2 separate regions of the Homo sapiens genome follow, and region 1 is linked to region 2. Evidence: promoter capture Hi-C in human tissues and cell types (Jung and others, 2019). All regions are on one chromosome and are shown on one strand. Each heading gives the region's core, a stretch centred on a gene start or on the middle of the fragment in contact. The rest is flanking DNA. Distances are from core to core; before and after follow the strand shown.

The links. Contacts are between HindIII fragments. The study calls those that stand out against the background at their distance.
Region 1: a contact is called between a fragment that was not itself captured here and the fragment with the promoter of TMPRSS11D in region 2, in 1 of the 25 tissues and cell types used here (adrenal gland).

Annotation. Positions count from the first base shown.
Region 1 is chr4:67,925,557-67,929,326 of GRCh38, reverse strand. The region is part of intron 5 of TMPRSS11A (transmembrane serine protease 11A); the gene reads left to right. Among named protein-coding and RNA genes, the nearest start is that of TMPRSS11A, 36 kb to the left of the region's middle. RefSeq lists enhancers at 1,344-1,844, 1,845-2,345. The HindIII fragment of the contact is 7,576 bases long and covers 1-3,770 here.
Region 2 is chr4:67,881,727-67,885,275 of GRCh38, reverse strand. TMPRSS11D (transmembrane serine protease 11D) reads left to right here and starts at 1,274. Exons shown (of 10, transcript NM_004262.3): 1 at 1,274-1,350. The coding sequence starts at 1,343. The HindIII fragment of the contact is 18,706 bases long and covers 1-1,853 here.

The sequences.
Region 1 (3,770 bases), core at 631-3,130, 43 kb before region 2:
TTCTCTTTTTTTTTGTTCACCCTTAGCCCATTATACCATTATCACTTCCCTCAATTAAGGAGAACAAACCTTTATCAAGGTCTATCTCTATGGCCTTTACCTTAAGTAACTAATTTCTTTTTATATTCCAGTGACGTACGCAAATTCACCTTTATAGAAGTGAAATTCACACAAAAAGAGTTGAGGAATTCAGTAATTAAAAGGAGCTAAGAATCAAATTTAAATCTCTAATTTCTTAAAAGGCTCCAATTAAAAAAGGTTTCTATAGTCAAACACATCTTAAAAATTCTGGCTTTGATACTCGTTTCTTGGAAATTCTTCCTTATAGTGTCATATTAAAAATTCTAAGGCAGCCAGCTAGAGAGAAACTTGTTTACCCTCGTCCGCTAAGCTGTTTGCACAGCATCTTCTTCCAACAGACAAGTATAGATTTCTCCTACAAATTTCAATGGATACCAGACCTAAGTGTTACAGAAGAGATTCAGGGCAAGCGATTTTTATCAGACATGAAACAGGACACTCTGCCCTTGTAAGGGTCTAGCTGACACTTCAAGAGGAAACCAGATAAGGAAGTAAAAAATGTGAGGTAATGGAATGGGCAGATGTTTGCTGATGTGAGAACGAGTCAGCTACTTAGGGAATAAAGCTGAGGACCTCTCCCAGCCAGAAGGGAGGAACCTGACAAGTGCTTAATCCATCTTCTTTGTTAGATGGGGAAGCAAATGAATAGAAGTTGTGAAACAATGGGCATTCTGATAATTTACATGATGCTTTCTGTGTAATTTCCAATAAATAGTTAATTTGTCAGGAATGTAAAAGCCTGAACTATCTGAAACCAGAGTAAAGCATAAATTGTTCATTGGCTGCCTGGTCTTTTTGTTTTTTGTAGGCTCAGCTTCTAAACTTCAGCTTATTTTAATAATTGTACTAAATTAAATGGTAGGATATGCTAATGGAGAACCTGATTTGAGAGTCACCTGAGGCTGGGCATGGTGGCTCAAGCCTATAATTCCAGCACTTTGGGAGGCCGAGGCGGGTGGATCACCTGAGGTCAGGAGTTCAAGACCAGCCTGGCCAATATGGTGAAACCCCGTCTCTTCTAAAAATACAAAATATTAGTCAGGCCTGGTGACGGGCACCTGTAATCCCAGCTACTTGGGAGACTGAGGGGGAAGAATCACTTGAACCCGGGAGGCGGAGGTTGCAGTGAGCCAAGATCGCGCCACTGCACTCAAGCCTGGGCTTGACAGAGCAAGACTCCATCTCCAAAAAAATAAAAAATAAAAGAGTTACCTGACCAATTCTAACTCCACTAAGTCACCACAGGACCACCCAAATAATTGGCTCATGCCTTTGTCTTCATTTTCTCATCTGTAAAATTCCAATGGTAATGTTTGTTCTTCCTGAAATCACAGAGAGATTATAACGATATACAAGGAAATAGAAAACACAATGTGAAATAAAGAGGCTGTTACTAATGAGAAAACTATTATGTTGTGCATATGCTTTGGAAACCTGAAATCATTAATTTGAGTGATTGACTAGTAGCAGAAAGATAGATCCTTGAAAGTTTCAGAATGTTCAATGTAGAAAGAACAGTGTTTGTTAGTGATATGGGAGCCTAGGGGGTGTTGCTTTTCTGGCCAGAAACCTCTGTGGCCAGTGGTTGGTGCCTTTGCCCAAGTTTTGCTCTGGCCCACTGGGCTTGTTCTGCCCACTTGACCTGGCAGACTGTGCCCACCTTCCGCTACCAGCCTGGATCCCATGCCCACCAAGGCCAACCCAGGCATGGAGCTGTGAGGGTTGTCTGAGCGAGCACAGGGTCTGGCCACTGCCCACAGCCAGGCACACTGGCTGCAGCATGACGGGCAGCTCCAGGCACTGGCACAGGTGTGCTGTCTCTCTGTGAGGCTGTGGCTGGACAAAGCTCACTGCAAGCAGCTTCCCTGGCAGGCACCTGGGAATGTGGTGGCACCCAGGAAGCTTGGAGATGCCAGGAACTGCAGGGTCCCAAAGAGGGAGTCACAACCCTGGCTTGGGGAGCTCCCAGGTCTGGGATCCCTAAAGGGCTGCAGCTTTTCTCTCTTTTTACCCACAATGTGGCCAGCAAGGGGTATGTTTCATTCCTGTTTGTGTTACAGCTCTTTCAGTCTTGCTATTTGGCAGGTCCTGAGTTCTTGTCCTGAGACCAAGAAGAATGAGGTATGCAGACAAGTGGAGGGTGAGCAAGACGAAGAAAGGTTTACTGAGCAAGAGAACAGCTCACAGGAGACCCACAGTGGGCAGCTCCTCTTCATAGCCAGGGTGTCCCAACAAGTGTCCAGCTCCTAGCAAAGAGGAGGCCCTGGAGGTAGAAGCTCCTCTCTGCAGGCAGGTTGTCCTGTTGAGTGTTCAGCTTTCAGCACACAGTAGGCAGTAGGCCCTAGAGTGGTCTATCTCCTCTCTGCAGGCAGGTAGTCCCATGGTCTCCCAGTCACCTCTCCATCTGCAAGGGTCCAATGCTGCCTCCAGCACCTCTCTGCCCACCCCTCCGTGCCTGACCAAGCTGCTCCCCCACCAGTGGGCAACTCAGCCCAGCCCCATTGTGGTAGCTCCCAGGGTGGCAGGCTCTGGGGGGCTCCCAGGGATGGGCTCCAAGGACTGTCCACCTTCTCCCCACGCCCTCCCTGCAGTGGCCATGGTCAAGAATGGCAATGTGGGGCCAGGTTCCGGAGCAGGAGAGGCTCCAGGCCTGGGAGCAGGTCCTGCCTGGTCACGTGAGGTTGGGGGTGGCACAGTCGGCTGCCTCAGGGATGTGGGACACAGGGGACCCACCACCATCACTGCTACTCCCGCATCCGCTCCTGCTACCACTGCTCCAGACAGCCTGTAGCTGCCATCACTAGCACTTAAGAAAGGCACATTCAGTGGACAGCTCAGGAAAATCTTTACGTCAATTTTTTATAGGCAAAAACATTGTTTCCTGGGCAAACAAAATTTATGGACTACCAATAAATAGAAAACTGTAGAGATTCTAGATTAAGTCTAGAAATAATCCTGTAGCCCAAGATTTATTTATAATTTGTCAAGAATCTGTATTTTGTTTTGACAAAAAAAAACTGTGTGGTGTGGGTCCTTCAGGAGACACAGTGTGACAAAGCAAAGCTAAAATCAACTTCTTTGCATTGCAAACACCAAGGCTGTAGTCAAGCAGCTCACTGCCTATGTGTCAGATGACTTTGCTTCATTTTTCATCATGATACTTGTAGTCTATAGAGCCCTGAATATTAACTAGCTTTCTCCCAACTCAGAACCGTGTTAGGAGGTGGTTGCTTTCAAAACTAAAGTGTTAATGTTTATTTCCATTTCTATACCAGGAAAGTAAAAATCTTTGGTCAAAATTAGAAATCTTTAACAACTAGTTACTTGTGTATTGACAGTTTGTTTCCAGGTGTAATCATTCTCCCTTAAAATCCGGTTATATTCACGACCATTATACTTATCCTGGTATCATTCCTGGAAATGGCTAACTTGCATCCTGCTCAGACTAAGTTGACAAAGTTTCAATTGAAGAATTCTAACTTTATGCTATTTTCCACTTTATTGCATTACAAAGGACAAAATATATAGTTTTCTTAAAAATGAAATAAATTTACTGCCTTAAACTACATTTGACGGTAAACTGAGTTCCTTCCATAGAATAACCACTAACAGCAATCGATGGTCCTGAGCAATTGACTCTTCACCATACAATGATTTGGGATGCCTTTAAGGGTATATTTGAATTGAAT
Region 2 (3,549 bases), core at 25-2,524:
GATATAACTATATTTAAAGGTACTTGAAGTTAACATGTAAAATTTAAAAATGGTTTGTTTAGGTAACTTTATTTTTTAAACTTTTAAATCTTATTATAGTTATTTATTTATTGCTAAAAAATCAATGGCAGAATGTCAGGCATGAGATACTGTATGTAAAAAATATATTTCCCAAATATATTTGGGAAAAAACATATAAGTAACCACTTATTCCTGTCTCTGTTGTTTGATTTGCACATTATATAGAAAAAGTCAAGTAACTGAACACATCTGAAGTTGCAGTATTGGAGTAAATTTAACCATTAGTTGTCAGTGCTTTACAAGATGAAGTCATAGAATTTTATAATTGAGAGTCCTCTAAGACCTCCTGATTCAGCTTCCACTTTTCTTAGTAGATACATGTGACTTATGGAGAAATAAGTAAATTTTTTCCCTTAAGCTACACAATTAGTTGGTGAAAAAGCTAAGACTAGAATTCATATTGTACTACTAATAATATTGTAATAATTCTATTACAAGTTCCAATTCTTTAGCATTCATTAGTTCTCACAAAGTAACCCCAGTATAACCTTCCAAATTTATATCCTGCTTCTTTGCAATGTTAGACAGGAATGCCCTTTTTCCCCTCCCTGCTAGTCTTGCCTGTTTTCTTGAGCTCTCCATCCTTACCCTAACACCCTACACACTCATACTGTCTTCTTCTGTCTGCTCCTCTTCTAGTAGTAGTGTGTTAGAATAGCTTTTTCAAATGATCATATTTGGAAAAAAACAAAGTGGATTTTAGTTCCAACTATTCTGTTTGCTTGTCTTACTTTGTGCATCTACTCAATTATGCTCTGTTTCATATATTATGAGAAAAACTGCATTTAATCATACAGATGAGGGAATTCAGAGGTAGTGCCCATTAATGTACGGAAAGTATGTTCTGATGGATCTTGGCTGGCTGTGTTGAGGAATGAGGTGTATAACAATATGATAACATGAGCAAAATAAGTGTCAAATCCTCTTGAACTAAAAGTGACTCTACAGTTGTGAAGTAGTCACAGGCTTTCACAAAATACCTGTCAATTGTAATTGTGTTTAATCTCAATTTACCAGAATAAATAAATTTCTTACTAATTTGTGAAATTCCCTGTCTATTTCCAATTATCTTCCACAAGTCATACTATTGGTTTGTTGATTCCCTCAAACTTGTTTAACAAGTTAGATTTTAATTAACATGAGATTTCCTCCTTTGTCCTCAACTATAGATCACACGTAATACATGAGAGTCATTCATTTGAGTGGGAATCTCAAAGCAGTTGAGTAGGCAGAAAAAAGAACCTCTTCATTAAGGATTAAAATGTATAGGTAAGTCCTGTTTTTGTCTTTGTAGCTTTAAAAGTTTTACTATATCTTACAGTATGGGAAAAATATAAAGAAGCTTAGCAAATTTTGACTGTGTCTAGCAATCTTCTAGTTACTTCTCTGAAAACTTCATCGAAACTCTTAGATATTGTTTAGATAATATGCTTGATATTATTTTCATAAGGTACATAGTTGCTTAACTGAATTTTTTATAAAACAACCACAAAAATACTTAGCTTAGCGTTATGACAACATATCTTTAAATAAGGAAGTGGTTTTGTTTCTCATGTGCAACATTTCGAAAAGTGGTGTGTGGATTTTAAAATTGCAATCAGTAAACAATTCTTGTGTTGTTTGGAACTTTTCGAGGATTCTGTGTTTTGACTTCCATTACAGTTTTATTGCTAGCTATTAAATAAATATGCCATAAATCCTAAAGTACACTTTTAGAAAGTAAAGACGGTATTTTTCTACTTTTTATATAGTTGTAGAATTATTTTCAAGAAAGTTCTTGCTAACATTTAAGAGAAAATAATCTCTCTCTGGTTTTCTTTTTAGTTAATGAATAAGTATTTTCCTATACTTTCACATAAAGAAAGAAAAAAGTTGTGAGATAATCAAGTCACACGTTAACATCTCAAAACAATGAAATAATTATGTAACTTGGTATGTTTATGTGTGCACTTAAGTGTATATATTATGCATATTATTTTTCTATGACTACAGGAAAACATGATACTGATAAGTCATGCTGAAAGGATCAACAAAAGCATGAACAATGTGTTAGCTATAATAAGTGCAGCTGAATTTATTTTAAATCTCCTGAACATTGGAAAATTCAATCAAAAGTCAAACCATTTTAAGTAATAAAAATATATATACAGTTATATGCACTTGAATATATATATATGAGTGAAAAGTGGATAGCTGTCTAAGCTTCCAATGATAGAAGAAATAAAATCATTTCATATTCATGTAATAGATACAAGAAATGTATTAAAGTAGCTTAAAAACCTATGAAGTAATTTACATACTGAGTTTGTTCTTATTTTATGTGAAAAAAACAAATCACAAAATTGTATTTACTCATCAACTACTACTTTGTAAAGCTATACATGGGAGAAAGTCTAATAAAGAACATAGAACATTAATCAGGTTTGTTATACTAAAGCAGTGAGTTTATGAATTATATTTTTTATTGTTCTTAAACCATCTATAAGTGTAATATTATTTGGGTAATATAGTGCATTTTAAAATGTATTTTGCTGAAATATTTTAATTTTAAAGAAATTACTCTGATTTTAAAATATTGCCCTTATAAGCAGTCAAGTGTATATCAAAACATCATTCAATGGAAAATAATAAAAGAAGACATGTAAATGATACAAATCCTGAAAGAGTTGTACAATTTCAGAAGGCTTTGAATCAATCAAATTTCTAAGTTGATCCATCATTGTACAGGAAATTTGACACTCAATCAGAGCCAACCTTGCCAATTACAAATAACTCTTCTGTGGAATTTTGGTTTCTAAGGATCACACTTTTTGGAATATTTTATCTCTTTAATAGCCTGTATCTACTACTAATAAATAGCAGCTAGGTATTCATATCAAATAACAGAAGGAAAATTAAATTGTACAATATACTTTTTTTAGGTAATTGTAGGTAATTTTGGCATAATTTTAGATAAATCTTCAGGTAATTCTGAAATACTTTTGGTTGAAAATTGGCTGCCTTGGATGGTTTGATTGCTTTTTTTATAAAAAATTAAACTCCCAGCTCTCTTCCATGCTGCTGCAAGATGAAATGCTCCTTTCTTTATCTACCTTCTTCCCTTGTCTGAAGAAGGAAATCCTACCGTAGGGCCCAGGAACCTGAACAGCTGTGTTACTCATTTCAGATCCTTGGTCACTCTAGATTTTCTCAGGTTCACCAAGGGAATATCTGTGCCCACCAGATTACAGAAAACGTGTGAGATGAGGTTTGGGAAATAGGATAAAGATTTATAAACTGGAATTTGGAATGTAGTTTATGGAAAGATTTAAGGTAAATGAGCATATCTCAGCTCAGGGACAGACAAGTCTTAGCAGGACTCCTCCTACCAAACAAATCTTGTTTCCATTTTCTTCCCTTTTGTCTGTGCTCAAGACATGATTAACTGACTGCAGAGACATGCCAAAGACAATCAGATGCCCTGCCTCC